Regions from separate parts of the Homo sapiens genome. Here region 2 is linked to region 1. The links are contacts of gene promoters, found by promoter capture Hi-C in human tissues and cell types (Jung and others, 2019). All regions are on one chromosome and are shown on one strand. The core of a region is centred on a gene start or on the middle of the fragment in contact, and the rest is flanking DNA. Distances in the headings are between cores, read along the strand shown.

What was found. Contacts are between HindIII fragments. The study calls those that stand out against the background at their distance.
Region 2: a fragment that was not itself captured here is called in contact with the fragment with the promoter of DGCR2 in region 1 in 2 of the 25 tissues and cell types used here (H1 embryonic stem cells and dorsolateral prefrontal cortex).

What each region holds. Positions count from the first base shown.
Region 1 is chr22:19,120,175-19,125,439 of GRCh38, forward strand. It overlaps DGCR2 (DiGeorge syndrome critical region gene 2), which reads right to left and starts at 2,238. Exons shown (of 10, transcript NM_005137.3): 1 at 1,954-2,238. The coding sequence starts at 2,032. It also overlaps the pseudogene TSSK1A. RefSeq lists an enhancer at 1,597-2,098 and silencers at 1,883-2,002, 2,123-2,562. The HindIII fragment of the contact is 22,645 bases long and covers 1-5,265 here.
Region 2 is chr22:19,382,568-19,387,899 of GRCh38, forward strand. It overlaps HIRA (histone cell cycle regulator), which reads right to left. Exons shown (of 25, transcript NM_003325.4): 11 at 5,144-5,249; 12 at 2,954-3,169; 13 at 1,053-1,138. Among named protein-coding and RNA genes, the nearest start is that of HIRA, 46 kb to the right of the region's middle. The HindIII fragment of the contact is 6,076 bases long and covers 1,026-5,332 here.

The DNA of each region.
Region 1 (5,265 bases), core at 988-3,487:
GCAACTCAAGACGCCTCCAGGGGTAGCTGCAATGTTCTCATCTGGAGAGTCATGGAATCGAAAGAATAAGTTTGCTCCCTCTACCAGATCCACCCCACCCATGCCCTACTCCGACCTCAGTGTGAGGTCTCCTGTGACGCCCTCACTGCTTCACAGGTACAAAAAGATGGCCACCTCCACCCACCTCTGGGACCCCACACTCCAGGGTATTCAACACACAGGAGTGTGACAAGTGACTTACACCTGGCCTCTGTTCCACATCAGGCACTCCTAAAAGGAGGGGCTTGTTCTTGTCACTTGGATTCCCTAGGGATGGGCAGGGGGCAAGCACCCACAGGCACTTTCTCAGTTGCTGCTGGCCAGTTGGCAGGCTATGTGAAAAGGCTGGCAAGGAAAAAGGAGTCGGGGACGTCAGTCACCTCTATCACCCAGGCAGGAGATGCTGGGCCTGGAACCAGAGGCACCCCAAAGAAGCCAGGCATAATATGGCCTCACCTGAGCCCGGTGACCTCATCTGCAAAACTGGGACTCAAGAATCAGAAAACGGTGACCTTCTACCTCTCTACACGTACATATATGTTTTCTAAAGAAGTTAATCACAAGAATCCACAAACCCATTGGTTCTGACCTCCAAGAGCCTATATGATACCCTCCTCCACAGGTAGCCCTTTTCCTGGCTTCTGTTCTTACCAAGGCCACCCCACAACTAGTCATCCCGCTGCCCAGAGAGCAGCCAAAAGCAGTGAGCAACTAGCTCTACATGGGGAGACCAGAGAAGCATCACTGAATCTGTCCAGGTTGAGCACCGGTCAGGGCCTTGGCCACCAGGCAGGCACTAGGGAGGAGGCAGACATTCCACATAGATGACACAAGCGCAGAGCCAAGAGGTGCGGTGTATCTGGGCTGGGAGCCTGGCTAGGGCACAGGAGAGGGCCACACACCCCGTGCTCCCACACCCAGGTCATCAGAGAAGATGGCCCTGGCACTTCTGCCTTCATGGGACCTTTCCTCCATTAAGAAATATTAAGAGTCATGCTTTTTCACTGTATTAGTATAAAGATGACTGTATTAATATACATACGAAAACATTTTATTTGACCTAAAAGTTCATTTTTTTTCTGCTGACTTTAAAAAAAAATAAAATAACATTCGAAGGCTACTAAAAGTACCGTGGGCAAGTGATACCAGGATTCCTGTGCCTGATGGATACATCGGCCCTGCATTTAGGGAGTTTGATTTTTTGGTGCAGTTCAAGGGGAGGTACACCGAAATAGGTAGAAAAGGGTCTCCTGGTTGCCACGGTTCTGATTCCCCACCACAGACTTAAGAACACACTAGCTCCGAGGGGAGTTCCAAAGCACGGACTCATTCATCACATACACGCAGCACGGCTAAGGGCCCCGCACAGTGGCGAGGTCTCTGCTCCCGGGACGCTCGCGCCGGCCACACAACGCTAGGCTGACTCCTGGTGCCTCCTCTAGGCCCGGTGGGACCTGAGGACTTCCTTAGCGCAACGTCTCACTGAATGACAGCCACAACCACCGCTGTCCAGGCGAGGAGTTTCCAGGACTGAGAGGCTGGCACTAGGCCACTGCTGGGAGGACGTCTGTGAAACCAGGTGCCCCTGAGAGCCACTGTCCCCAGCCCGACTCCGACGCTGGACTGGCGAGAGGGTGCGCCCGTGGCGTAGCTCCTGGCCGCCGCCGCTCCCGGGAAGGGCCCAGAGGCAACATCCTGGACAGCAGAGCTGCACGAAGTCCGAGGCGCCGCGAGCCCAGGTAAGCTCCAGCAGGCGTCCGCAGAGAGTGCCAGGCGGCCCGCGAGCCAGGCCCCGCCCGCCCCTGCCCCAGGCGCGGCCCCTGCAGGAGGGCGCCGCGGGTGAAAGGAGGTCCCGGGGCGACCCCGGCCCCGCTCGCCGCCCAGCCCCCACACCGCCCCCATCGCGCGGCGCACCTGGCCGCAGCGGCTCGGTGACAGTGAGCACGAGCAGGAAGAGCAGCAGGAAGGCGCCGCTGTCTGCCTTGGGCACCATTTATCCTCCGTTCATCGTCCCCGGGGCGGCTGGAAGGCCGGACCAGGCCGGACTGAGGGTCAGGGGACCGTGCCAAGCGGAGGGTCAGGCGGAGCTGAACCTGGGCGAGGCGCGGAGAGGCGGCGGGAAAGAGCTTCGGCTGGGCCGCGGGCTGGCGCACACTCTCGGCTGCAACCTCAGGCACCGACTCCAGCTGCGCGCAAGATGGCGGCCGTCCTGCTCGGCTCCGCGCCGCGCCGCCCCGCCCCGCCTCCCGCCCGCGACGCAGGCGCGGGCCAATGACCGTCAAGATGGGGGGCGGGGCCAGAGCCAAAGCCCTCCGAAGAGGGTGAGGCCTAAGGTCGCGACGGCGGAGGGCGGGGACCTAAGGGCGGGGACTGAGGGGCGGGCTCTAAGGGAAGGGCGGGACCATACGGAGTGAGGCGTGCCATTGGTTAAGCAGAGAGGCAGGGCCGGGGCCGGGGCCTGAGCGGCGGGGCCACCGAAGGGAGTAGGGTCTCTGGACGCCGGTTAGGGACGGCGGGCGCGGGACGGCAAGGATGGACATCGAAAGGCGCGGGGCATGGGGCGGGGCGCCGAGGGGTCGCGCGGGTGGGGAGCGGAGAGAACGAAGTGGGAACCTGGCTGGGACTCCAAGGGTCTTCACACCTGCAAGCTCAGGTCCCGTGAGCAGCCCAAAAGTGCGCCCCAAAGGGGTCTTTTTAAGGCCGAACCGCTGTGGAGGAGGGAGGGCCTGCCGGTTCTGAGGGTGGGGAAAGAGGAACAGGAATGGCCTAAGAGAGTGTCAGGCAAAGAGAGACCGGGAAGGCCAGGTCCTGGAGACTGCAGCGAAGCCGGCTCCCTGGAGGACCTGCCTACACAATGGCTAGGGGAAGGCCACATGTGCAGGAAAGAAAGCTAGGCAGAGAGGAGGCTCAGCGCCCCTGCGAACAGTGCTCCAAGTGCCACTTCTCCCGTCATCACCAACAGGGTGAACCTTGGAGGGCAGTGTCGGCGAAGAGTCCAACTCTGTAAAATATTTGAAGACATTTCTTCTGAGCCAATATGTGACCAATAGCCTGGGACACAGCCCCAGGAGATCCTGACAAGTGCCCAAGGGGGTAGGGCCACAGCTTGGTTTTATACATTTTAGGGAGACAAGACATCAATCAGCACATGTAAGATATACATTGGTTCAGTCGGAAAAGGCGGGACAACTTGAAAGTGGGGGGTGGAGGGGGGCTTCTAGGTCATGCGGATTGGCAGTTGGTTCAAAGAGTTTATCTAAAGACCTGGAATCAATAAAAGGGACTGTCTACATTAAGGGGTTGTGGAGACCAAGTTTCTTAGGCAAATGAAGCCTCCAGGTATCAGGCTTCACAGAGAAAAGACTGTTAATGTTTCTTATTAAAAAGTGCCAGACTCTGCCGGGTGTGGTGGCTCACGCCTGTCATCCCAGCACTTTGGGAGGCCAAGGCGGGCGGATCACCTGAGGTCAGGAGTTCAAGATCAGCCTGGCCAACATGGTGAAACCACATCTCTACTAAAAATACAAAAGTTACCCAGGCGTGGTGGCACACGCCTGTAATCCCAGCTACTCAGGAGGCTGATGGCAGGAGAATCGCTTGAACCGGGGAGGCAGAGGTTGCAGTGAGCCAAGATCATGCCACTGCACTCCAGCCTGGGCAACAGAGTAAGACTCTGTCTCAAAAAAAAAAAAAAAAAAAAGGAAAAAAAAAAGGAAAAATAAATAAAAGGTGCCAGACTCTAGTTAATTCTCTCAGGAGAAAAGACCTTGAAAGGGATAGGGATTCTCTACAGAATGTAGATTTTCCCCACAAAAAACAGCTTTGCAGAGCGACTTCAAAATATGTGAAAGAAACCTGTTTTGCAGTAAAATATGTGTTTCCTTCCGGGCCTGCTGTCATGCTGGTATCTTACTGCCACAGAGTCTGTTGTCAGTCTTCAAGTCTCTGTGTCGATGTTACACTGCTTAGCTGTGCCTGAAACCTGAAGGGAGGAGGGATAATGAGGCCTGACTCCCACTTCCTATCACGGCCTGAAATAGTTTTTCAGGTTAAGTTTGGAATGCCCTTGGTGGAGAGGAGGGGTCCATTCAGATGGCTGGGGGGTTAGAGTTTTATTTTTGGTTTCCAGGAGACAGTAGTTGGGGTGTCCCCAGCGGGAAGGAGAAGGAGGCTGTCTGGAAGGAGGAGAACCAAGAATGCACAAAGGCCTGGCAGTGGGCAGTCAGCGTTAGGGAAGAAGGTGAAGGAGCAGAGAAAAGGGGGAAGGGCCACGGCAGGTGGGGACCCAACCCAACATGAGTGACAACCAGCCCGCCCTACCAAGTCATCCTGAGGGGCCCAGGGTTCCACTTGGCTCCTGTGAGAAAGGGGTGCTCACTCCCTCTAGGTGGATGAGGCCAAAGTCAAATCCAAGGCTAGGATAGTCATGTGACTCCTACTCCCCTAGGGCATAGCCCGGAACAAGTGCTGGACACAGAGCCTGGCACAGCAGAGGGGCTCCACTGCCAGAAAAAACAATGGCCACACTCTCCAGTGCTGCCCCTGCTGCTTGTACTGTCCTCAGAGCAGCCACCAGTGCTCAGGGTGGCATCCAGTCCCCGCCTTTAGCCCCCAGCCCCAGATCTGCCCTGGGAGCCCAGCCAGGGGCAGAAAAAAAACTAGTTCATTGAGTGCCAGGGAGCCCTGCCCAAGGACATGGCGTGCAAGATGTTCCACCAACTCTCCTCAGCCATTAAATACTGCCACGACCTGGACATCATGCACCAGAACCTCAAGTGTTAGAACCTTCTCCTCGACAAGGACTTCAACATCAAGCTGTTCTACTTCAGGTTCTCCAAGCTCTGCCTGCGGGATGACAGTGGCCAACAGAGATTAAGCAAGAACTTCTGCGGGTTGGTGGCATATGCAGCCCCCGAGCTGCTGCAGGGCATCCCCTACCAGCCCATGGTGTATGACATCTGGAGCCTGGGCATGATCCTCTACATCATGGTCTGCAGCTCCATGCCTTACGACTCCAACATCAGGAAGATGCTGCGTATCCAGAAGGAGCACCGCGTGGACTTCCCACACTCCAAGAACCTGACAGACGAGTGCAAGGACCTCATCTACTGCATGCTGCAGCCCGACGTCAGCCAGCGGCTGCACATCCATGACACCCTCAGCCAATGCTGGGTGCAGCCCAAGGCACAGGGACTGCCCTCTATGGTCTTCAACAAGGAGGGGGAA
Region 2 (5,332 bases), core at 2,814-5,313, 260 kb after region 1:
TGAAGGTTTCTTTAGACACCAAGGAAGATTTGGAATAGCTCGTGGATGGACAACTGCAAAACGCAGAGGCCTAAAGTGTGTGGCCTCCATGAAGGGCTTACAAATGCCCTGAGCAGATAGACGGAATGAGAATAAAACCCAGAGTGAACTGCCTTGACAGTGGGGGTCTATTTCTTTCACACAGTGCTTTATCATTTTTCTTTCTTTTTTTTTTTTTTTTTGAATCAACACACATCATTTTGGGAAGAATAACCAATTCAAAAACAATCTTCACTATATACACTGGGACAACAGCAAGTGGTGAATGAGTCTCTTCCCCCTTCTCTGTCCCCCACAGGGAAATATGTTTGGGAGCCCTACTCTCTGCCCAGTAATTCCACTTCTAGAAGTTATCCTGAGAGAACAACCACAGGTGAGCTCAAAGACTCATTTATAATCACGAGAAACTGGACACAAACACAAGTCTACAGTGAGCTGGCTAAGCAAATCCTAGGATGGGAATCTGGATAATCAGATAGCAAACACCTCAGAGGACTAGTTATTAAAATGGATGAATGGGCATGAAACAGTAACGAGTGGGGAAAAAAAAGACTGGAAATACAGATATAAAAACATTAACAGTGACTGTATCTGATTATGGATAATGTTTTTTTCTTCTTTGGGCTTTTACTATTTTCTAAATTTAACCATGTGTAAATATACCTTTCATAATCATAAAAATAACTTTATGAAAGAAAAAAAAGAAAAAAAAAATCAGCCTGACTGACTGCTTTCCTTGTGCGTCCTCTGGTGCCCTGGCAACAGTGAAGTGCAGCAGATGTGCTGGCCGCCTTAGCACTCCCACCCCTCACATGATTCAGGTGTGCACAAGGGCTCCAGGAGGAGTATGGGCTTTGAGACTGCGGGAAGCTGAGCTTCACTTCCTTGCTTCCATGTTCTACCAGTCAGGTTGTGAAGGACCCGTGAAGATCCTCACTGTGAAAGTGTTAACCGCTGAAAGAAGACAGGAAGATCTCGCCAGATAAGACCATGAAAGGGGAATGAACCAGTACCCAGTGTCCAGCTGTGCTATGCAGAGAGGCGTGATTCTTCTCCGGCCATCTGCTGTCCGAGTCTCAACTTGTTTCTTCAAAAGATTCTGGCAAAGCAGAGTTACATAAATGAATGCAAAAGTTTTGGCCAACTATTTCCAAATATTAAAAAATAAAGTCTCTTTTTTTCCTGGTGATAAGAACACTAAGCATAAGATCCACCCTCTTAGCAAAGTTTTAAGTATGCAATATCATATTGTGAACTGTAGGCACTATGCTGTAGGGGAGATTTCTAGGACTTATTCATCTTCTATAACTTAAACTTTATACCCTTTGGCTAATAACTCCCATTTTCCTCTGACCCCAGTATTCACCATTCTATTCTCTGTCTCTGTGAGTTTGACTATTTTAGATTCCTCATATAAGAGGTATCAGGCAGGCCAGGCACGGTGGCTCACGCCTGTAATCCCAGCACTTTGGGGAGGCCGAGGTGGACAGATCACAAGGTCAGGAGATCGAGACCATTCTGGCCAACATGGTGAAACCCCGTCTCTACTAAAAATACAAAAATTAGCTGGGCGTGGTGGTGTGTAACTGTAATCCCAGCTACTCAGGAGGCTGAGGCTGAGGCAGGAGAATCGCCTGAACCAGGGAGTCGGAGGTTGCAGTGAGCCAAGATTGCGCCACTGCACTCCAGCCTGGTGACAGAGCGAGACTCCATCTCAAAAAAAAAAAAAAAAAAAAAGAGAGATATCATGCGGTATTTGTCCTTCTGTGTCTGGCTTATCATTAATTTGTACACACTAAGTATGTATAACTTTTTATATGTCAATTGTACTTCAACACGGTAGGTTTAAAAATAATAAGGCTTCTAAGGAAATGTATTCTAAATTGCCCTCCTGGTACAACTAAATAAGACACCCAAGCAAAGAACAAGCAGTGGGTACATGCCACACTGGCCGCCTCGCACAACAGCCATGGGACCAATGAAAGGGCTAAAGGACTGAGCTCTGTACCCGTGAACCACACATCTGTCACTAAGCTAGGGATTTTCTTTCTTTCTTTTTTTTTTTTGAGACAGAATCTCACTCTGTCTCCCAGGCTGGAGTGCAGTGGCGCAGTCTCGGCACACTGCAATATCTGCTTCCCGGGTTTAAGCAATTCTCCTGCTCAGCCTCCCATGTAGCTGGGATTATAGGCATGCACCACCATACCCGGCTATTTTTTTTTTTTTTAAGTAGAGACAAGGTTTCACCATGTTGGCCAGGCTGGTCGGAACTCCTGACCTCAAGTGATCCGCCTGCCTCAGCCTCCCAAAGTGCTGGGATTACAGGGGTGAGCCACTGCGCCTGGCCTGAGGTAGAGATTTTCAAACTGACTTTCAAAATAGAATCCTTCCTTCCACAGAAAGCTTGTAACTAGGGGTTTTCTCTCATACTTTATATCTGAATTGCCTGGAGGAGGTTTGTCAGCCTACACAGGCTCCTGGAGATGGTTTATACTCCCCAGGCAATAACGTTCCCTACCCTTTTCCCGCCCCATTTCCAACCCCTTCCCATCAAACATGGCTTCCAGATGAAGAAGGGGGAGCCCATAGAAGTCTCCTAAGGGCAGAGCCTGAAATCCACTGTTGTTAGCATCTAGGATTTTTAGAAAGACCAGAAGGATAAAATTCGTAAGTTCTTACAAGAGATGACCTCCTCTGGGCTCCTGGGGATAAGGAGGCCTTTGATAAAGAGGATCCAGGCCCCATTACTGCATCATGCAGCAGTGGGCAAGGGGCCAACAGGCCCGAGGCTGGCTAACCCACAGATCCCGTACCACTCTAAACAAACCCCTTCCTTACCACCACTGGTGTCTGCCCCTCACCCTGTCCCTGGGCATATGTCCATGTCTTTAGCGCCACCAGGCAGGGCTCTCACCTTCCTGATATCTTCAAGACTCTCCCCGTTGACAACGCCTGCGACTGAGGTGGCTGAGCCCATCTCCCTGGTCGCAGCACTCTTCTGGTCCAGCTGCTGCTGCTGCTGCCTTCGCTGGTACTTGAGCATCTCAGGGTTCTCAATGACGGCTGTGGAGAGCTGGGCCTCGGTCATGATGGCTAGGCTCTTGCCATAGGTGGACTGGTGAATGCGGCTCTGGGGAAGCAAGGAGAGGCATGACATGCCAGCATGAGTGCCAGTGTGGCCAGTGCTGCCCACCAGCAGGCAAACTACAGCAGGGCTCTCCTGGCTCTGAGTGGAGAAGGGACCCAAGGCCAACTCCCCATCGCCTCCCATCCTATTCTGCCTGTCCCTCATTCGACAGCTCTGTTGATGTCTCATGCCCACCCTTGATTTTTATGGCCTCCCTTGTATCTGTAGCTGGGATGACAGTAAATGAGACAGCCAACAAGACAACACCTGCCCCACAGTCTGGTGGAGAACAAATGACAATCCACAGTGCTTCAGTGGAAAGGAAGATACTCAAGGTGCTAACTTAAGGCTCTTAAATCACTCCTAGGACCCAAATGATTTTGGGAATCAGATCCTAGAACAAAAGTCTACTTTCACAGCTCATCTGCAGCCATAAGCCCTGTGGTTGGAAGTCCCCATTGGCCTGCTTAGTGTCTCTAAGAGTATGGGAAGGCCTGGCACAGCAGGGCTGGGGAGCCTCCTTTACTCCCACCCCTCCTAGTATGTCATCATACTCCCCTCCTTCTAGGCCCTCATAGTCTTGTGCCCTAACAAGCTAGACAGGAGCCTCATGAGAGCAGAGATGGTGTCCCCAGCACACTGTAGTGACTGCTGTACATGAAAGTGCATGAGGAACACACTTCCATGGGATGTGCAAATGTCCAATGTGGGATTCTGCTCAAGAACAGGGACTGTGGTTAACAGGACATCTGCTTTACAGCAGAGCATGGGTTGAGAGGCAGCGTTCCAAGAGAGGTGCCTTGGGACCTGCTCCTGCAGGGCTTGAATGTGGCCAGGAACCTCCTTTTCTTGCCATCTTGGCTCCTGCCCTTCTCTCCTGAGTCTATCCCCTGGAATCTCGAAGCAGAATTCAGTGTTTGGCCAGGGTTTCCCTAGTGTTCCTCCAACATGGAGTCCCAGCCTGACTTGGGAAATGGTAAGCAGATGGGTTATTAGGCTCCCAGAGTGACTCCAAGGGAGTGCATAGTGATCCCAGGTACCTGATGACAGTGACAAGGTTGGAGGAGGACCTGAGGCCTCTGAGATACTCATTCCTTCATGGAAAAATGATGGGGTGGCAGGCCCCATTCTAAGTGTAGTCATTAAGGCAGACCTCTCCCCCAAAGGGGTTCACATTTTAGTGGGGAGGTCACACTGTAGGTTAAGAGGAAGCTTCCACCAGCAAATAAGGTCATGAGGAGAGCTGCCAGCCTGCTCTGGGCTTTCACAGAGCTCCCTTCAGACACATACACACAACCCACCAAGTGGGGGCAGGTTTCTAAGCCTCTGGTAGGTGAAGCAGGGCTTTTCTCAAAGCCTGGCAGAAGGGCAGAGAGACCCCATCACCCCAGCAGAGCACAGAGGGGAGGCAGCCTGGCCCAGAGGCAGCAGGCCTTGTTCACTCTTCTGACCTAAGGGTCACATACAGTCTGGGCAAAGAGCCATGCTATTTTCTGAGGCTTAGTTTCCATATCCACGAAATGGATGAGCCTTGCCTTGAAGGGTTTTGTGCAATTTAAATGAAATCATATGTGCAAAACACATTCCCAGAGCCTGGCAGACAATGCGTTCTAAGAAATGACCAATATTACTACCATGAAGGTGAAAGTGACATGAGCAGGGGCCCCTGAGGAGTCACTTCAGCTCTTTCCCAGGGCAAAAACCTCCCAGTGGATGGCCTATTATCAGCTCAAAAAGAGATGCCTAAAATAGTTCTACTCTTAACTCCAGGACTTATTTCTGAAATGGGGACTCGTTTTTTAATTAATCTATTTTGTAAAGAAGGATTACAAGATATAAAAGATGAATACCCCATTACATGTTAAGAAATGACTTGTCTGTGTATCTCACAAGAAGAGGGTGTAGTCAAAGGGGTCTCTCAGAGCTATTGTGGCAATGGCCACAGAGCACCCAGCAGCACAAGAGCCGTCAGCCTACCTTCTCCTCCTCGCTCAGGGGATCGCCAAGCTCATCCTGGGAGAAGTCGAGGAATGCCACAGAGCCGTCCATAGAGCATACCAAGATGCCCAGCCCATTCAGAGTCCTGAAAGACATGGCCATCAGCAGCCTGGTAGCAAGAGCCCCAGGCAGACACATGTGCCGCAGTAGCTGGCCTGTGAGGATGGT